2 separate regions of the Homo sapiens genome follow, and region 1 is linked to region 2. The links are contacts of gene promoters, found by promoter capture Hi-C in blood cells and fetal thymus (Javierre and others, 2016). All regions are on one chromosome and are shown on one strand. Each heading gives the region's core, a stretch centred on a gene start or on the middle of the fragment in contact. The rest is flanking DNA. Distances are from core to core; before and after follow the strand shown.

The links. Contacts are between HindIII fragments. The CHiCAGO score rates a contact against its expected background, and 5 or more counts as called.
Region 1: a contact is called between a fragment that was not itself captured here and the fragment with the promoter of SPMIP11 in region 2, in 1 of 17 cell types (megakaryocytes). The highest score is 5.3, in megakaryocytes.

Annotation. Positions count from the first base shown.
Region 1 is chr12:48,797,314-48,801,866 of GRCh38, forward strand. It overlaps the pseudogene ADISSPP1. Among named protein-coding and RNA genes, the nearest start is that of ADCY6-DT, 10 kb to the left of the region's middle. RefSeq lists an enhancer at 3,862-4,460. The HindIII fragment of the contact is 4,501 bases long and covers 1-3,506 here.
Region 2 is chr12:48,724,242-48,729,128 of GRCh38, forward strand. SPMIP11 (sperm microtubule inner protein 11) reads left to right here and starts at 3,194. Exons shown (of 4, transcript NM_001351123.2): 1 at 3,194-3,318. The coding sequence starts at 3,240. RefSeq lists an enhancer at 1-54. The HindIII fragment of the contact is 5,202 bases long and covers 3,005-4,887 here.

The DNA of each region.
Region 1 (4,553 bases), core at 6-2,505, 71 kb after region 2:
CCCCTCTTACAAATGATGAAACTTGAAAGTGTGCTGGATATTAGATGGAATTATGTTTAATTGTGTTAGGGAAGGGTAATGTTATTTTTTTATTTTTTTATTTTTTTTTGAGACGGAGTCTCGCACTGTCACCCAGCTGAAGTTCAGTGGCAGGATCTCAGGTTCGCTGCAACCTCCATCTCCCGGGTTCAAGTGATTCTCCTGCCTCGGCCTCCTGAGTAGCTGGGATTACAGGCGCGTGCCACCAAGACCGGCTAATTTTTGTATTTTTAGTAGAGACAGGGTTTCACCATGTTGGTCAGGCTGTTCTTGAATTCCTGACCGCATGATCCGCCCGCCTGGGCCTCCCAAAGTGCTGGGATTACAGGCGTGAGCCACCGTGCCCGGCCGGGTAATGTTATTTTGACACTAAGAAATTCCCCCTAATTTTAACATTTATTTATTTATTTAAATTGACAAATAAAAATTATATATATGTACGTAAATTGTGTACAACATGTTTTGAAATATGTATACATTGTGAAATGGTTAAATCAAGCTAATTAACATATGCATCACTTCACATGCTTATCTTTTTTTTTTGGTGGTGAGAACACCTAAAATCTACTCTTTTAGCAATTTCAAGTATAAGATGCATTGCTATTAACTCTATTCACCACGTTGTGCAATAGATGTCTTGAACTTATTCCTCTCATCTAACAGATTTTGTATCCTTTGGCCAACTTCATTTCGGCCCAATCCTCCCACTCCCCAGCCTCCGGTAACTGCCATTCTACTTTTTCTACAAGTTCAACTTTCTAAGATTCCACGTATAAATGAGATCATGGCCAGGTGCAATAGCTCATGCCTGTAATCCCAGCACTTTGGGAGGCTAAGGCGGGCGGATCATGAGGTCAGGAGTTCGAGACCAGCCTGGCCAACACAGTGAAACCCCGTCTCTACTAAAAATACAAAAATTAGCCGGGTGTGGTGGCATGCACCTGTAGTACCAGCTGCTTGGGAGGCTGAGGCAGGAGAATCATTTGAACCCAGGAGGTGGAGGTTGCAGTGAGCCAAGACCACACCATTGCACTCCAGCCTAGGTGACAGAGAGATTCCGTCTCAAAAAAAAAAAGAGATCACATGGCATTTGTCTTTCTGTGCTGGGCTCATTTCACTTAGCATAATATCCTCCAGGTTCATCCATATTGCCATAAATTGCAAAATTTCATTCTTTTTTATGGCTGAATATTATTACATAATATATATACTGTATACTGCATTTTCTTTATCCATTTTTCTGTTGATGGACACTCAGGGTGATTCCATATCTTGGCTATTGTGTGTGTTGTTTTTTGTTTTTTTTGTTTTTTTTTTCTGAGACGGAGTCTCGCTCTGTCGCCCAGGCTGGAGTGCAGTGGCACAACCTTGGCTCACTGCAACCTCTGCCTCCTGGGTTCAAGCAATTCTCCTGCCTCAGGCTCGTGAGTAGCTAGGCGCTCGCCACCACGCCAGGCTAATTTTTGTATTTTTAGTAGAGACGAGGTTTCACCATATTGGTCAAGCTGGTCTTGAACTCCTGGCCTTGTGATCTGCCTGTCTTGGCCTCCCAAAGTGTTGGGATTACAGGCATGAGCCACTGCGCCTGGCCTTTTTTTTTTTTTTTTTTTTTTTTTTTTTTTTTTTTTAATAAGGACAGATCTTGCTTTGTTGCCCAGGCTGGAGGGCAGTGGCTATTCACAGGCATGATCATAGTGCCCTGCAGCTTCCAACTCCTGGACTCAAGCAATCCTCCTGCCTCAGCTTTCCAGAGTAGCTGGGACTATAGATGTGAGCCACTGTGCCCAGTTACTATATCTTGGCTATTGTGAATAAAGCTGCAATAAATATGGGAGTGCAGATATCTCTTCAACATACTGGTTTTATTTCTTCAGATATATACCCAATAGTGGGATTGCCAGATCATATGGTGGTTGAAATATGTTCTTTCTGAGTGATACTACTGAAGTATTTCTTGGTGGACTATCATGATGCCCACACTTTTCTTTAAGATATTTTACTCAAAAAAGAAAAAAAAAAAAAAAAGGCCAGGCATGGTGGCTCACACCTGTAATCCCAGCACTTTGGGAGGCCAAGGTGGGTGGATGGCTTGAGGGCAGGAGTTCAAGACCAGCCTGGCCAACATGTCGAAACTCCGTCTCTACTAAAAATACAAAAATTAGCTGGGTGTGGTGGTACACACCTGTAACCCCAGCTACTCAGGAGGCTGAGGCACGAGAATCGCTTGAACCCAGGAGACGGAAGATGTAGTGAGCCGAGATCACGCCACTGCACTCCAGACTGGGCAACAGCGCAAGACTCCACCTCAAAAGAAAAAAAAAAGATATTTTAGAGTAGTAAGGAGAGGGTCATAGGGACATCCTCCCTTTTACTCCCAGTCTCCTTGGCTAAATAGTTGCCATGGAAAAAGTAGATTTTGCTCTTTCCAGAAGTGGTCCAGGAAGCCAGCTCTGTATATGTGTGTAAGAGGTGAGAGAGACTGAAAAGATTAACAATATCAAACTTTCTCATCTCACAAGCCTCAAAGGGCCTGTATGTGAGTGCAGATAACTGAAATCGGTTATCTCCCTGATCCTTGCCGGCATATCACACAAATGTTTGGGAGTAACACTGGGGACAAGGGTCGTCTCCCCCCCACCCCGCCCCCACACTGGAAGTTTTATTTCTTTAGGATTCTATCCCAACCACTCGCTTAAAAATCAAGTAACACAGACCTGAGGGGTAGGAGCTGGGGACTGCACCTCCCTGCTACTCATGGAGGACAGCAGTGCGAACGAGGGAGGGGCAGGAGAGGCGGCTGAAGCAAGGCAGCAGCAGAGGTAACGGGGCCACGACCTCAGAGAACCAGCTCCGTCCTCTCCCAGACCCTGGCTGGAGCCCCTATGGCTTGGGGTGGGGAGTGGGAGTACCCACCCCAGGCCCTCCCCTTCCTTCCTCAGACAGCCTCCTTGAGGGCTCAAGCCATTTCTTCTGGCAGGAGACTGAGGCACACGGAGAGGAGGAAGTGGAAGAGGAGGATGCAGGAGAGGCAGGGTGGTGGCTTGAATGAAGGCAGAGGTGACAGGCGTGGGCAAGGCCACTCCATCCCACCCACCCTGGAGAGGGGCAAGGAAGCCACACCATCAGGCAGCATGTCGGGTATGGGGGAACAAGGCAGGGTTTAAGGCTGAGCAGCCCAGGGCAGGCAGGGCAGCCCAGGGCAGGCAGGACCTCGGGCCTCAGTCAAAGCCGTGCCAGTCGCTGTGCTCCGAGTAGTATTCCAGCTTGGCACCCATGCATTTGACACCGTCCAGCAGCATGCATGTGCCATGGCGTCAGCCCATGATGCAGGCTTGCACCTTCCGCGCACGCAGGTGCTGGTGCCACCTTCCCAGACTAGTAGCATCCCCTCTTTGAGGACCCCTTCTTTGTGCGCCTAGTACTCGCACTTGACACTATAACCTTCAGGGAAGGGTAGGACGCTGAGAAGCTTCAGGTGCAGGCTGGGGACAAGTGCCTGGCGGACGTCCTTGCTCAGCCTGTGCACTGGGACGGAGCAAAGGTAATCTCATACCTGTGCAGGATCTTCAGGAACCTTGACCAGAAAGCTGCTGTCCCTCTCCTGGATGACCATGACCACCGAGTCCTGCAACTTCTCATCAAAGTGGACGTGGCTTTGGGAGCCCTCTGCATCGTGGCCTGTCACAAAGTGGATACTCCGGAATCTGGGCTTGCTGCCTTTGTTGGTTGCAGCCATGGACCCCCTCCCTGCCACGCAGCTTCCGCAGGACCAAGCCACTCATGCCCAGCAGCCTCCCATGCTCCGGGGACAACAGCAGGAGCCTTGCAGGGTGCAGCCCGGGGCGGACAGGGCAGGGACGACCGCTGAGGCGGTGGCAGGGTCTCAACGCTGAGCACAAGGAAGGGAGCAAGGCTCCTCTTTTAATTTGGTTTTCAGTCAGTTGGAACTCAGTCCTTAGTTTAGGACTGGAGCTTGGGAAAAGAGAAGCGAAGAAGAGGAAGATTTTCAATTACTACTGGGCTTGCTTCAGACTGGATCCAAGGCTCACTGCCTTTGCAGCAAGGAGCAGGAATTGCCTAGTCACGTCATGCAGTCATGTCCCCAGGAAAAACATGAACAATCACAGCTTTTCCTTTCTGGGCCTCTCCTCTTTGTTTTGTTTGTTTGTGTTTGTTTGTTTTTTTAGAGACAGGGTATCATCGCTGTTGCCCAGGCTGGAGTGCAGAGGTGCCTCGAGCTCCTGGGCTCCAGCGATCTTCTCCTCTCAGCTTCCCAATTAGCTGGAACTACAGGCAAGTGCCACCATGCCTAGCATTTTTTTTTTTTTTTTTTTTTTTTGAGATGGAGTTTCCCTCTTGTTGCCCAGGCTGGAATGCAATGGCGCGACCTCGGCTCAATGCAACTTCTGCCTCCCGGGTTCAAGCAAGTCTCCTGCCTTAGCCTCCCGAGTAGCTGGGATTACAGGCACTTGCCACCACGCCCCGCTAATTTTTGTATTTTTGGTAGAGACGGT
Region 2 (4,887 bases), core at 1,944-4,443:
TTTTTTGGTGGAGACGGGGTTTCGCTGTGTTGGCCAGTCTGGTCTCCAGCTCCTAACCGCGAGTGATCTGCCAGCCTCGGCCTCCCGAGGTGCCGGGATTGCAGACGGAGTCTCGTTCACTCAGTGCTCAATGGTGCCCAGGCTGGAGTGCAGTGGCGTGATCTCGGCTCGCTACAACCTCCACCTCCCAGCCACCTGCCTTGGCCTCCCAAAGTGCCAAGATTGCAGCCTCTGCCCGGCCACCACCCCGTCTGGGAAGTGAGGAGCGTCTCTGCCTGGCCGCCCATCATCTGGGATGTGAGGAGCCTCTCTGCCTGGCTGCCCAGTCTGGAAAGTGAGGAGCGTCTCTGCCCGGCCGCCATCCCATCTAGGAAGTGAGGAGCCTCTCTGCCCGGCCGCCCATCCTCTGAGATGTGGGGAGCGCCTCTGCCCCGCCGCCCCGTCTGGGATGTGAGGAGCGCCTCTGCCCGGCCGCCCCGTCTGAGAAGTGAGGAGACCCTCTGCCCGGCAACCACCCCGTCTGAGAAGTGAGGAGCCCCTCCGCCCGGCAGCCACCCCTTCTGAGAAGTGAGGAGCCCCTCCACCCGGCAGCCACCCCGTCTGGGAAGTGAGGAGCGTCTCCGCCCGGCAGCCACCCCGTCCGGGAGGGAGGTGGGGGGTCAGCCCCCACCAGGCCAGCCGCCCCGTCCGGGAGGGAGGTGGGGGGGTCAGCCCCCCGCCTGGCCAGCCGCCCCACCCGGGAGGTGAGGGGCGCCTCTGCCCGGCCGCCCCTGCTGGGAGGTGAGGAGCCCCTCTGCCCGGCCACCACCCCATCTGGGAGGTGTACCCAACAGCTCATTGAGAACGGGCCGTGATGACAATGGCGGTTTTGTGGAATAGAAAGGGGGGAAAGGTGGGGAAAAGATTGAGAAATCGGATGGTTGCCATGTCTGTGTAGAAAGAGGTAGACATGGGAGACTTTTCATTTTGTTCTGTACTAAGAAAAATTCTTCTGCCTTGGGATCCTGTTGATCTGTGACCTTACCCCCAACCCTGTGCTCTCTGAAACATGTGCTGTGTCCACTCAGGGTTAAATGGATTAAGGGCGGTACAAGATGTGCTTTGTTAAACAGATGCTTGAAGGCAGCATGCTCGTTAAGAGTCATCACCACTCCCTAATCTCAAGTACCCAGGGACACAAACACTGAGGAAGGCCGCAGGGTCCTCTGCCTAGGAAAACCAGAGACCTTTGTTCACTTGTTTATCTGCTGACCTTCCCTCCACTATTGTCCTATGACCCTGCCAAATCCCCCTCTGCGAGAAACACCCAAGAATGATCAATAAAAAAATAAAAATAAAAAAATAAAATAAAAAATTAGTTAGGCAAGGTGGCAGACACCTGTAATCCCAGCTACTCAGGGGGCTGAGGCAGAAGAATTGCTTGAACCCAGGAGGCGGAGGTTGCAGTGAGCTGAAAACGTGCCCCTGCACTCCAGCCTGGGCGACAGAGTGAGACTCCATCTCAAAAAAGACAAATCAAGCATCAGAACCAGACTCACATATGGCAGAAATTTTGGAATTATCAGACTGAGATTTTAAAATAACTATTAACATGTTAAGGACACTAATGGAAAAAGAGGACAACATTCAAGAACAAAGGATGGAAAAAGAGGACAACATTCAAGAACAAAGGGCAACGTAAGCAGAGAGATGAAAACTCTAAAGAATCAAAAGGAAATGCTAGAAATAAAAAACACTGTAACAGAAATGCAGAATGCCTTTGGTGGGCTCATCAGTAGACTGGGCATGACAAAGGAAAAAAATCAGTGAGCTTGAAAATATGTCAATAGGAAACTTCCCAAACGGAAAAACAAAGAGAAAAACGAATGAAAAAAGAGTGGAATATCCAGATGCAATGGAAGTAAATAAACTCATGAGCATAGATAAGAGTAAAATAATCAGGAAGAGATGACTTGTTAGTATTTACTACTTTTATTTTATTTTATGACAAGATCTGGCTCTATTGCCAGTCTGGAGTGCAATGGCACAATCTCAGCTCACTGCAACCTCCACCACACAGGCTCAAGCCATCCTCCCACCTCAGCCTCCCAAGTAGCTGAGACTACAGTCACGTACCACACCCAACTAATTTCTGTGGGTTTTATTTTTTTGTAGAGACAGGGTTTCACCATGGTGCCCAGCCTGATTTCAAACTTGTGAGCTCAAGAGATCCATCTGTCTCGGCCTCCCAAAGTGGTGGGATTACAGGTGTGAGACACCACACCCGATGTACTACCTTTATTTTTAATATAACATTCAATTGTAAGTTTAGTTAATTTGATTTTTAATAATGCCTTGTTTAACAACCAATTCACAAAATCAATGAAAATTTAACAAGCTTTCAAAAGTCACTATGGATTGGCACACCACTGCTGAAACAAAGACTCATTGAAAGTATCCTATTCAGATTTCTTTTTTTTCCTGAATATAAGGCTGGATAACTATTAACATTTAAATACTGGTGGGGCGTGGTGGCTCACACCTGTAATCCCAGCACTTTGGGAGGCCGAGGAGGGCAGATCACTTGAGGTCAGCAGTTCAAGACCAGGCTGGTCAACCCTGTCTCTACCAAAAATACAAAAATTAGCCAGGTGTAGTGGCGCGCCCCTGTAATCCCAGCTACTCGGAAGGCTGAGGCATGAGGATCTCTTGAAACCTGGAGGCAGAGGTTGCAGTGAGCCGAGAAAGCGCCATTGCGCTCCAGCCTGGGCAACAGAGGGAGACTCTTAAAAAAAAAAAAAAAAAAAAAATTTAAGTTTCCATTATGTGTTGAACACCGTTCTAAGGAAATATGCATATATTATCTCATTTGATTCTCATAACTGTCAGATATTGTCATTGTCATTTTTTTAATTTAAAATTGAAAATGGAGGCTTAGTTAATCTATTCAAAGTCAGACACCTAGAATATGGCATAACTAAGATATGAGCCCAGGTCGGTGCTCTTTCTACTCACTGCCTTCTGAAGCTTACACTGGAAGACTAGGTCAAGAAAAGGTGTACTGACAATTGATTCCTCCATTTTCCTGAAGTTATTTAGCCCACTCCCACTCCAGCTCCACTGTGAACCTATAAATCCTGTGCCTCATTAGACAAAGGGAGTGTCAGTTGTGGTAATTCTTAGGACATTACCATGGTTACCAGGCACAGAGTCCAGTGCCCCAACCTGGACGTTCCAGAAGAGGCCAGGGAGGATCTGAGATGGCCTTCTTCAACTTGTATCTATTGGGATATCAAAATTCCTTTCAGAACAAGAAAAGGAACACAACTGAAGAAACAAGTAAGGGGAATATAGGGTAGAGGGTTAGAAGGGCCACTTCTTTACCTAGATGCTTCATAGCCACTTCCTAGCTATTTATTTTCCTACCTGGGGTTAGAGATTTATCCTCCAAGGCCAACAGTTACACTAGTTAAAATTGTGGAATAGGGACAATATCCTTTCAGCTTTGCTCTCCTGTCATTTAATATCCTTATTAAGACACACAATTTGGGCCAGGTGCAGTAGCTCACATGCAATTCCAGCAGTTTGGGAGGCTAAGGCAGGAGGATTGCTTGAGTCCAGGAGTTCAAGACCAGCCTGGGCAACATAGTAAGACCACATCTCTATGAAAAGTTACACAAATTAGCTGGGTGTGGTGGTGCATGCCTGTGGTCCTAGCTACTTGGGAGGCTGAAGTGGGAGAATCACTTGAGCCCAGGAGGTCAAGGATGAAGTGAGCCATGATCACACCACCGTACTCCAGCCTGGGCGACAGAGCGAAACCATCTCAAAAAAAAAAAAAGACACACAATTTGTTCAACCAAATAAGTGTATTCTTAGTCATTCGTTGGCTCATTTAACCAACATTTGTTAAGCACCAGGCTTTATGTGCCTGGCATTATGTTGGTGACTAGGGTTAAGACCTCTGCTATAAAGTGACTATCTGATGAGAAAGATAAGTGTGCAAACAAAAATTGCAATATATTGTATGATTACATTAAATATGGAATGTTCTAGAGCCACTAAGAAGGAAGTACCTGATACTATTGGATTTGGAATAAGAACGGGGGAGTGGAGGATGGGGGAATCCTTCAGAGAAGACTTCACACAGGAAATGCTTCCAGAACTGGGTGTTAAAGGATGATTGGCGTTCACTAAAAAGGGGATGGCCGGGTGCGGTGGCTCACGCCTGTAATCCCAACACTTTGGGAGGCCGAGGCGGGCGGATCACGAGGTCAGGAGATCAAGACCATCCTGGCTAACACGGTGAAACCCCGTCTCTACTAAAAATACAAACAATTAGCCGAGCGTGATGGCGGGCGCCTGTAGTCCCAGCTACTTGGGAGGCTGAGGCAGGAGAATGGTGTGAACCCGGGAGGCGGAGCTTGCAGTGAGCTGAAATCGAGCCACTGCACTCCAGCCTGGGCGACAGAGCGAGACTCTGTCTCAAAAAAAAAAAAAAAAAAAAAAAAGAAGGGGATATAGCACAGACAAAGGAACAGAGACCTAAGAGAGAACCATATTAAGTGAATTCCAAGTTCGTGGGTACACATAAAGGGTAAAGTGGAGAGGTGCTGGGAGGCAGACGTTGAAAACTAGGAAGGGGCCAGATAATTGAGGATGCTGTTAGCCATGCTAAGCATTTTAACTTTATAGACAGCCATTGAATTTTTAGTAGGCAGTGAGCAGATCTACATTAGATTCAAAATGCCTAGCCATGCCTCACACATAATAGAGGTTGCATAAATATTTGTAGGGTGAATGGATGAATAACTAAGTTTGAATAACTGTAAAACAGGAAGCTAGGGGAGGCTTTACAGGAGATATGACAATTGATTTACATCTTAAAAGATGAATTGTTGCCGGGCA